Regions from separate parts of the Homo sapiens genome. Here region 2 is linked to region 1. Evidence: promoter capture Hi-C in human tissues and cell types (Jung and others, 2019). All regions are on one chromosome and are shown on one strand. Each heading gives the region's core, a stretch centred on a gene start or on the middle of the fragment in contact. The rest is flanking DNA. Distances are from core to core; before and after follow the strand shown.

Region 1 (5,521 bases), core at 2,536-5,035:
AATCATATCTTCTTTCTTTTTATTATTGGTAGCTAGAAGAAGCCAAGTAGCACCTTGAACTTTCTCTCTGGGTATGTCCTTAGATCATTTTATTCTTGGGAATACTATCTAGCTTCTATTTCCTATTTGGCTACAGGTGACAATGTTGCTAAACTTCCTGCCACTGCATAACAATGGTCTTCTTTCCTCCATCTTCCAGTAACAATTTCTTCACTTTCCTCTAAGTCCCCACTGTCAGCCTCTGCAAGGTCCTCCCAGCTCCTGGACACTGCCCCATCCCAAAGCCAATGTCACATGATTTAGGTTTTGTATCAGCAGCACCCACCCCACTTCCAGTACCAGATCCCGTTCTGCTTATCTATAGTTATATAACAAACCACATCAAACTTGGTGCAGTAAAAACACCCAGCATCATCTATTTTATTATATTTCATAGTCATGGGGCTTGACTGGGCTCAGGGAGGGGATTCTCAGTTTTGGTGTCTCCTGTGGTTGCAGTCCAATGGTGGCCGGGGCCAGAGCCATCTGGAAGGCTTCCTCACTCACTTGTAGGTGACCCGTGCAGGGGGTGGATGGGTCCTTCAGCTGGTGCTGCTGGCAGGAACACGCCTATCCTCTCCCGAGGCTGCCTGTGCCCCTCACAGCATGGTGGCTGGGTGTAAAGATCAAGCATCCCAAGATGTGTGAGAGAGAGAGAAGGAGTTGGGTTGCTGATCTGATCTGTGTGACTCTGTGTGTGACTTGGCCTCAGAAACCACACGATGTCAGTTCTGCTGCATTCTATGGATTACAAGCAAGTCGTGAAGGCCAGCCCATGTTTCAGGAAGAAACCCAATTAAACTCCCAAAGGGAGCAGCATCAGAGAACCTGCCAGCATGTTTCAGAGGCGCCAGAGTGGCCAGGCACGGTGGCTCACACCTGTAACCTCAGAGCTTTGGGAGGCTGAGGCAGGTGGATTGCTTGAGGTCAGAAGTTCTAGACCAGCCTGGGCAACATAGTGAGACCCTATCTATAATTTTTTTTAAATTAGCCAGGCATGGTGGCGTGTGCCTGTGCTCCCAACTACTTGGGAGGCCGAGGTGGGAGAACCTCTTAAGCCCAGGTGTTCAGAGGCTGCAGTGAGCTATGGTCACCCACTGCACTCCAGCCTGGGTGAAAGAGCGAGACCCTGTCTCAAAAGTAAAAAAACAAACAAAAAAGGCCGGGCGTGTAATCCCAGCACTTTGGGAGGCCGAGGCGGGCAGATCACAAGGTCAGGAGATCGAGACCATCCTGGCTAACATGGTGAAACCCCGTCTCTAATAAAAATACAAAAAAAAAAAATAGCTGGGCATGGTGGCAGGCGCCTGTAGTCCCAGCTACTCGGGAGGCTGAGGCAGGAGAATGGCGTGAACCCGGGAGGTGGAGCTTGCAGTGAGCTGAGATCATGCCACTGCACTCCAGCCTGGACGACAGAGCGAGACTCCGTCTCAAAAAAAAAAAAAAAAAAAAAAAAGGGAGGGGGGCAGGCCAGGCAGGCACGGTGGCTCATGCCTGTAATCCCAACACTTTGGGAGGCTAAGGCAGGCGGATTGCTTGAGCTCGGCAGTTTGAGACCAGCCTAGGCAACGTGGCAAAACCCCCCCAAAACAGAAACATTAGCTGAGCATGGTGGTGCACCTGTAGTCCCAGCTACTTGGGAGGCTGAGGCAGGAGGATCACTTGAGCTCAGGATGCCAAGGCTGCAGTGAGCCATGATCACACCACTGCACTCCAGCCTGGGTGACAGAGCAAGACCCTGTCTCAAAAAATAATGCAAAATAGAAAATAAACTTTTTGAAAAAGTGCCACAGTGGGCCATTTACCAAGGTGGACTGGTAAAGAGGCAGGGCACACGCAGAGGCAAATAGGTAGAAGAGAATGAGCACTAGAGATGGACAGGTGGGCAGTGGCCCATTTGTAAAAGTGGAGAACATAGGGTAAGAAAGGGATTTTGAGAAGACCTTGAGTTCCTTTCTGGCATGGTGACTGGGAGAACTTTATTGGTAGTGGAGATGGAGATGTGGAGCAGGCTCCAGAAACAAGAGCGTGGAGCAGAGAGAGAGGCCAGGCTGGAGGTGCACTTGTGAGTCACTGTCACAAAGATGGTGTCTGGAGCTCCAAGGCTGGAATAGGTATTGAGGGTGAGAATGGGAAAGGATGAAGGAATGGCCAGGGCTAGGAGGAAGAGGGCTCAGCAAATGTTGGGCTGGCTCTCCTGACCAATGACCCTGCCTCCCCCATCATAGCAGCACTCTGATTTTGGAGGATGGTCCAGATGCAGTTCTGTGAGGGAGGTCTGCTGAGGGAGGAGGGATCCATGGCCATCCAAAGGGCCATGGGAGGAGATGAAAAGTGTGGGGCTGTGGCAGCCATTCTACCACCAAGAGGTGGGTGGAGGAGGGGTTGACAGAGCCACTCATGGAGGTGGCAGCTCATCACTGAGCCTCCAGACTACCCCTGGGAAACCTATGTGGGAGCTCTTGTGACAGAAATTAAATCAGCAGGTTCGGTCACAGTGATGTCCACAGCACTTTCACTGATAGCAGAGTGGGGATGGCAGAGTCTTGCAGAGGGGCTGGCGGCGGGAGGAGCGCAGGAATACGCATTGCCCTGGGGAGGCGGCCAGGTTCTAACCGTCTCACACCTAGTCACTACACTTTACAGATTGGGAAAGCCAAGCCCAGAGGCTGAAGACGCCTATGGAGGTCACACGGCCAGAAATTGACAACGGAGTATGAGCCAGGCCGTCTGTTTCTCTGTGCTATGAGTCCCATACTGTATTTTCAAAGGTCAAGAGGAAAGGGTCTTAAGCTGAAGTGACGGTCCCGCTGCCAGGAGCCGCTTCACTGAGGGTGAAACAATGTAGCCAAGTGCGGGTCACCTGCGCTGTGGCAGAAGGGACCGAGGACGGTGTGGCCAGAGGACTGGCCTGGGCGGAGAGCGAGGAGGGGGAGCCCACAGCTTCTGGGGGGCAGTGACAGTGCGGGGAAGGGCGAGGTGCAGTGTTGGATGTTTTCGCGGGGATTCTGGGACCAGTGGGAAAGCTGGAGGACAGGCGGCTCTGAAGCACCGAGGAGGGGCCTCGGAAGGGGCGGGGAGGTCTCCTTGACACAGGTGAGGAGACGGAGAACTGGGGGCACCCGGCAGCCCAGGCTTCCTGCCGCGCTCTCACGCCCTCCAGGGCCATGAGACCCTGGCTCCGAGGTGGCGGGCAGGTTCGGGACCCGAGCGCGGCGGGATCGTGCGGTTGCCGGTGGTGCTGGGCCCCATGGAGGCTGCGGTCCAGGAGTTTCGGGTGGGCGGCTAGGCCGAGCTTCTGCAGGCGTGCTGAGCCGCCGCAGTAGGGCCCCAGAGGGGACGAGGAATTAGGCCCAGCCGAACGAGGGGGAGCCACCAGAGGCTGGGCCGGGAGGCACCGCCGCGCTCTGGGGAGCTGCCAGGGTCGGGGCGCCCTCCGAGCGGCTGCCAGGCCCCGCGGGCGGCGGCGAGGCGGCCCTCCGCCCCTTCCCCGCAGGTCGCCCTGCCAGCTTGAGCGGCGGGCGCGGGTGGGGCAGGAGGACGCGGGGCGGGGTGGGGGGCACAGGGGGCCCTCTCTGCAGCGCCCCCGGCCCCCGCGCGCGGAGGCAGGGCCGCCGCAGTCGAGGATTAGCGCGTTCGCGGCCGGCGCTGCGGGATTAACCCGCGTGGACTGGACGCCCGGCCCGGGGATTACTGCGCGCTCCCTCCCCGACGTATATATTCCCGCGGCGGCGGCGCCCCGGCCGGGCCGGGCATGGCGGCAGCGGCTGGGGGCGCGGCGAGCCGCCGGGGTGCCGGGCGGCCCTGCCCCTTCTCCATCGAGCACATCCTCTCCAGCCTGCCCGAGCGGAGCCTCCCGGCCCGGGCCGCCTGCCCACCGCAGCCCGCCGGTCGCCAGAGCCCCGCGAAGCCAGAGGAGCCCGGGGCGCCCGAGGCTGCGCCCTGCGCCTGCTGCTGCTGCTGCGGCCCCCGCGCGGCGCCCTGCGGGCCCCCAGAGGCGGCCGCCGGGCTGGGTGAGTGGGCGCGGAGCGGGGCGCGGGGCCCGGCGGAGCCCGGGGCGCGGCGCAGTGGGTGCCGAGCTTGGCCCCAGCCCCGCGCCTCACCGCGCCCTCGCTCCGCAGGCGCTCGTCTGGCGTGGCCGCTGAGGCTGGGACCGGCGGTGCCCTTGTCTCTGGGTGCGCCAGCCGGAGGTTCCGGGGCGCTCCCGGGCGCGGTCGGCCCGGGTTCGCAGCGGCGCACGAGGCGCCACCGCACCATCTTCAGCGAAGAGCAGCTGCAGGCGCTCGAGGCGCTTTTCGTGCAGAACCAGTATCCTGACGTGAGTACGCGCGAGCGCCTGGCCGGCCGCATCCGCCTTCGCGAGGAGCGCGTGGAGGTGAGTGCCCCGCCCAGCCTTTCCCCGGAGCGCGCGGGCCGCGGCTACACTGGACTGGGGTCCTGGCGGGCGGGCGCCCTTTGCAAAGACGGCCTCGGCCCAAGCCCCGCCCTGGCGCGCCGGAGGGAGGAGGTCCCTGGACGGCGCTGGGCGTCCGGGGGTATGAGGAGCGGGTGAGAGCAGGGAGGTGCCGCGGGAAAGGAACCGGAGGGCTACTTTTCTTTTCTTTTGTTTTACACTTTCCTCTGGTGACGAAAGAGGCCCGCGTTCACGTCCAGAATTTGGGAAATTCAGAAGAGCCCGCAACCCAAGAAGGGGCGTCCTGGTCGCCGCCAGCTGGAGGCTGGGGCGGGTACTAAGGGGGTTCCCATCTCGCGTCCAGACCCACCGAGTCTGTCCGCAGCGAATAAGGGCAGGTGGCGCGCAGCCGCGGCCCGGGTGTCGGCTCTACAGCGCCGTCCGCCCACATCCCTGTTGCGAAGCTCCCCTCTCGGTCCCTGTGGGACCCTCGGGAGCCGGTGGGACGCAGGACCTGGGGCTAGGGCTGAGCATTCCCCCCATCCCCAGGTCTGGTTCAAGAACCGCCGGGCCAAATGGCGACACCAGAAGCGCGCGTCGGCTTCCGCGAGGCTCCTGCCCGGCGTCAAGAAGTCCCCGAAGGGGAGCTGCTGATGACTCTAGGAGCTGCCCCTGGGCTCGGCCACCCTTTTTGGGATCTTTGGAGTTGGCGCTGAGAGAAGACAGGTCTACCCGAAAAGGAGCTGGGAGAGTACACCGGCCGCCTCCACCCGTCTCCACAGCCCTTGCCTCCTGCAGCTCGTGCTGCCGTGGCGCTGGGGACGGGCCCCCGGTGCTTGGTGTTCCACGGCAGTGGGAGTGGCGAGTCCCTTGGGGGTGGGCTGGGGCATAGAGCAGTTTCCTCAGCTCCCTACCCCCCGAGAGACACTAACTCCACCGCAGGAGGGGAACCACCCCGTATCAACACGGGACCCAGAATCCTACGCAGTGGAGCGTCTCTCCGCACCCTGGGACATGCTGGCCACCCTCTTCTCAATGTGGACATTGACCTAACTTGACCTGGCTCGTCCTCCCCCAGCGGGAGAGGGG
Region 2 (5,178 bases), core at 172-2,671, 180 kb before region 1:
GGTGGGCAGATCACGAGGTCAGGAGTTCGAGCCAGCCTGACCAACATGATGAAACCCCCGTCTCTACTAAAAATACAAAAATTAGCTGGGTGTGGTGGCACACACCTGTAATCCCAGCTACTCGGGAGGCTGAGGCAGGAGAATTGCTTGAACCCGGGAGGCAGAGGTTGCAGTGAGCCAAGATCGCGCCACTGCACTCCAGCCTCGGCAACAGAGCAAGACTCCGTCTCAAAAAAAAAAAAAAAAAAAAAAATCTGCAACGTTATGAGGACAAATTGAGATTGTGTGGGCAAAGTCTTCGCACGTTTCCTCCCTTGAAGGAAACAGCAGTCGTGAGTGACTTTACCACCACCGTTTGGAGATGATGAAGAGATAAGCAGAAAACATCAAGGCCTTCAACTTACAGACAAGATGGAGTAACAGGGACCAGGTTGACCCTTCTACCTGAAACAACCAAAGGAGCCCGTCAAAAATACATGCAATGGTGGTTTCAAGACACTGGATACCATGCTGGGCACAGTAGCATGCGCTTGGAGACCTAGCTACATGGGAGGCTGAGGTGGGAGGACCATTTGAGGCCAGGAGTTCAAGGCTGCAATTAGCCATGATCATGGCACTGCACTCCAGCCTGGGCAACACAGGAAGATCCCATCTTGAAGAAAAAAAAGAAAAAGAAAAAAACAGAAGAAGACACTCCAGGTAGTACGCTTGGGCAATCATGGGGCTCACCTTGTTTGTATCCCATCTTGGCAGGGATTACTGTCCTTTGTTTTCTGATATCCAGAGAGAATTTCTAGGCCACAGCAAGAGGAGGCAGAACTGAGGTAGAGCCCAGTGGACTACTTGAGCTGAGGAAATGGAGCTGAGAGTCCAAGGAGACTAAGGCAGCACTGCTTCAGATCCACCTACCAAAAAATAAAAGCAAGACCCAAAATGATCACACTGTTTCCTGACCAACATAGTAAAACCTCCTCTCTACTAAAATACAAAATTAGCCAGGCATGGTGGCACATGGCTGTCATCCCAGATACTTGGGAGGCTGAGGCAGGAGAATCACTTGAACCTGGGAGGCAGAGGTTGCAGTGAGCCAAGATTGCACCACTGCATTCCAGCCTGGGCAACAAGAGTGAAACTCCGCCTCAAAAACAAAAAATTAGCCAGTCATGGTGGTACACACCTGTAATTCCAGCTACTCAGGAGGCTGAGGCATGAGAATCGCTTGAACCCAGGAGACAGGTTGCAGTGAGCTGAGATCGCGTCACTGCACTTCAGCCTGGGTGACAGTGCGAGACTGTCTCAAAAAAAATTTAAAAAGCTGGGCGCGGTGGCTCACGCCTGTAATCCCAGCACTTTGGGAGGCTGAGGCGGGCGGATCATGAGGTCAGGAGATCTAGACCATCCTGGCTAACACGGTGAAACCCCGTCCCTACTAAAAATACAAAAAATTAGCCTGGCGCAGTGGTGGGTGCCTGTAGTCCCAGCTACTCGGGAGGCTGAGGCAGGAGAGTGGCGTGAACCAGGGAGGCGGAGCTTGAAGTGAGCCAAGATAGCGCCACTGCACTCCGGCCTGGGCGAAAGAGTGAGACTCTGTCTCAAAAAAAATAAAAAAATAAAAAGAAAGAAAGAAAGAATTTATGACTAAGGACTCAAAAGCAAATACAACAAAAAAGTAGACAAATTAGACAAACTAAAAAGCTTCTGTACAGCAAAAGAAATAACAGTAACAACACATATCTATTAGAATGGCTTACATTTTTTAAAAAGACAATAATGTGTATTAGTGAGGATGTGGAGCAACTGGAACTCTCATGCATTGCTGGTAGGAAGAATAGTTACTTTGATAAACAGTGTGATCGTTCCTCATAGAATTAAACATATACTTGCTCTATAACCTAGGTACTCTATTCCTACGTCTGTTGGTTTTTCTCAAGATGGAGTACGTTTTCCTCAGGAGGATGGCTCAGGACAGGTGCAATGGCTCACGCCTGTAATCCCAGCACTTTTAGGAGGCCAAGGCAGGTGGATCACTTGAGGCCAGGAGTTCGAGACCAGCCTGGCCAACATGGTGAAACCCTGCCTCTACTAAAACTACAAAAAAAAAAAAAAAAAAAAAAAAATTAGCCAGGTGTGATGGCAGGTGCCTGTAGTCTTAGCTACTCAGGTGGCTGAGGCAGGAGAATCGCTTGAACCTGGGAAGCAGAGGTTGCAGTGAGCTGAGATTGTGCCACTGGACTCCAGCCTGGGTGACAGAGCAAGATTCCATCTCAAAAAAGAAAAGATTATGGCCAGGCACAGTGGCTCACGCCTGCAATCCCAGCACTTTGGGAGGCCAAGACCGGCGGATTACTTGAAGTCAGGAGTTCGAGACCAGCCTGGCCAAAATGGTGAAACCCTGTCTGTACTAAAAATACAAAAAATTAGCCAGGCATGGCGGCACGCACCTGCAATCCCAGCTACTTGGGAGGCTGAGGCAGGAGAATCACTTGAACCCAGGAGGCAGAGGTTGCAGTGCGCCGAGACCATGCCATTGCACTCCAGCCTGGGCAACAGAGCGAGACTCTCAAAAAAAAAGAAAAGGATGGCTCATGTTTTGCTTAAAAAAAAAAAAACGGCTTTACTGAAATAGTTAACAGCATGCGATTTACAATCTAATGATTTTCAGTGTAGTCACATCATATGTGCAGCCATCACCACAGCCATTATTAGAATCTTTTCATCACCTCAGTAAGAAACCCCATACACTTTAACCACAGCCATTATTAGAATCTTTTCATCACCTCAGTAAGAAACCCCATACACTTTATCATGCCCTATCCCCGATCCCCATCATTCTGAGGCAACCATCAACCTGCTTTCCGTCTCTATAGATTTGCTTATTCAGAACATTTCATATAAATTGAATCACAGAATATTGCTCTTGTCTGGCTGCTTTCACTTAGCATAATATTTTCAAGTTTCATCCATGTTGTAGCATGTATCACTATTCCACTTCTTTTTATGACCAAATAATATTCCATTGTATGCATCATTTTGCTTACCTGTTCATCTGTTGATGGACATTTGGATTGTTTCCACCTTTTGGCAATTATGCATAATGGTACTATAAACATCAGCGTACAAGTTTTTATGTGGAAATGTGTTTTCATTTCTCTCGGATATATAATATATAGACCTAGGAGTGGAATTGCTGAGCCGTATGATCACTCTATAACTAACTGTTTAACAAACTACCATTCTGCCTTCCAGTGTGGCTGCTCCATTTTATATTCATATCAGCAGTGTATGAGATTTCCAATTTTTCCACATCTTTGCCAACATTTCCTATTACCAAGTATGTATGTATGTATATTTATACTTTTTTATGGAGACGGGGGTCTCGCTGTTGCCCAGGCTGATCTTGAACTCCTGGGCTCAAGCAGTCCTCCTGCTTTGGCCAACCAAAGTGCTGGGATTACAGGTGTGAGCCACCACATTCAGCCTATCAGGTTGTTTTAAGTAAAGGCATCCTAGTGGGTATAACATGATATCTCAGAGTGGTTTTGATTTGTATTTCCCTAGTGACTGATATGTTGCTCAACCTCTCATGTGCATATTAGTCACTTGTGTGTCTTATTTTTCAGATCCTTTGCCAACTTTTCAATTGGATTGTCTTTATCATTGAGTTTGTGAGAGTTTTTATCTATTCTGCATAAAAAATATTCCTTATCAGCTGGGTGCCATGGCTCGTGCCTGTAATCCCAACACTTTGGGAGGCTGTGGCAGGTGGATCACTTGAGCCCAGGAGTTTGAGACCAGCCTGGACAACATAGTGGGACCCCATCTCTACAAAAAATAAAAGAATTAGCCAGAATCGTGGTACACACCTGTGGTTTCAGCTACTAGGGAGGCTAAGCTGGGGGGATCACTTGAGCCCCGGAAGTTGAGTCTGCAGTGAACTGTGATGGCACCACTGTACTCCATCCTGGGTGACAGACTAAGGCCCTATCTCAAATGTTTTCTTTTGTTGCTCACACTGTTGATCTCATATTTAAGAAACCACTACCACATCCAAGTTCATACACATTCACCCTTATGTTTCTATTAAGAGTTTCATAATGTTAGCTTTTACATTGAATACTCTGATCCATTTTGAGTAAAGTTTTGTATATTATGTGAAGAGTTCAATGTCATTATTTTGCGTGTGTCCATCCAGATGTCCCAGCATCATTTGTTGAAAGACTATTTTTACCCCATTGAATGGTCTTGGCACCCTTGTTGAAAATCAGGAGACCAGAGACACTTGGGTCGTTTCTGGACTCTCAGTTGTATTGTGTTGAAATATGTCTATGCTACACTGTCTTGATTACTGTTGCTTTATAGAAAGTTTTGAAATAAGGAAGTGTGAGTCCTCCAATGTAATTGTTCTTTTCAAGGTTGTTTTTGCTATTCTGGGGCCCCTGAGTCTCCTTATAAATTTTAGGGTCAATTTGTCAATTTCTAGAAAGAAATCAGCTGCAGTTCTAGGGGTTGTGATGATCTATAGATTAATCTGAGGAGATTGCTATCTTAACAGTATCAGGTCTTCCAATCAATGAACATAAACATCTATCCATTTAGTTAGGTTTTCTTTCATTTCTTCCAACAATGTTTTGAAGTTTCCAGAATATAAGTTTTATAGTTCTTTTGTAAAATTCATTCCCAAGTATTTTATTCTTTTTGATGCTATTGTAAGTGGAGCTGTTTGGTTTTTTCAAAAGATGGAATCTTGCTATGTTGTCCAGGCTCGTCTAGAACTCCTGAGCTCCAGCAATCCTCCTACCTCAGCCTCCCAAGTAGCTGGGACTACCAAGTCCACATATCACACCTGGCTAAGGAAGTGTTTTTAAAATTTCACTTCCATTTCATTACAAGTGTATAAAAATACATTGATTTTTGTATATTGATCTTATATCCTGCAATCTTGCTGAACTCATTTATTAGTTCTAATAGTTTTTTTTGGACTCTTTAGAATTTTCTTTACATAAGATCATGTCATCTGTGAATAGAGATAGTATTACTTCTTTTCCTACCTGGATGCCTTTTTTTTTTCTTGCCTAATTGCTGTGGCCAAACCCTTTAGTACAATGTTGAATAGAAGTGCCAAGAGTGGGCATCCTTGTCTTAATACTGATTTCAGGAGGAAAGCATCCAGTCTTTCAC

The links. The method cuts DNA at HindIII sites, captures the fragments that hold promoters and counts their contacts. A contact is called where the count stands out against the background at its distance.
Region 2: a contact is called between a fragment that was not itself captured here and the fragment with the promoter of GSC2 in region 1, in 2 of the 25 tissues and cell types used here (H1 embryonic stem cells and IMR-90 fibroblasts).

Annotation. Positions count from the first base shown.
Region 1 is chr22:19,148,556-19,154,076 of GRCh38, reverse strand. It overlaps GSC2 (goosecoid homeobox 2), which reads left to right and starts at 3,785. Exons shown (of 3, transcript NM_005315.2): 1 at 3,785-4,052; 2 at 4,161-4,414; 3 at 4,982-5,521. The coding sequence starts at 3,794. The coding sequence ends at 5,086. RefSeq lists an enhancer at 4,334-4,833. The HindIII fragment of the contact is 19,488 bases long and covers 1-5,521 here.
Region 2 is chr22:19,324,125-19,329,302 of GRCh38, reverse strand. LOC105372859 (a long non-coding RNA gene) reads right to left here. Exons shown (of 6, transcript XR_938002.3): 2 at 730-905. Among named protein-coding and RNA genes, the nearest start is that of CLTCL1, 35 kb to the right of the region's middle. The HindIII fragment of the contact is 5,118 bases long and covers 1-3,980 here.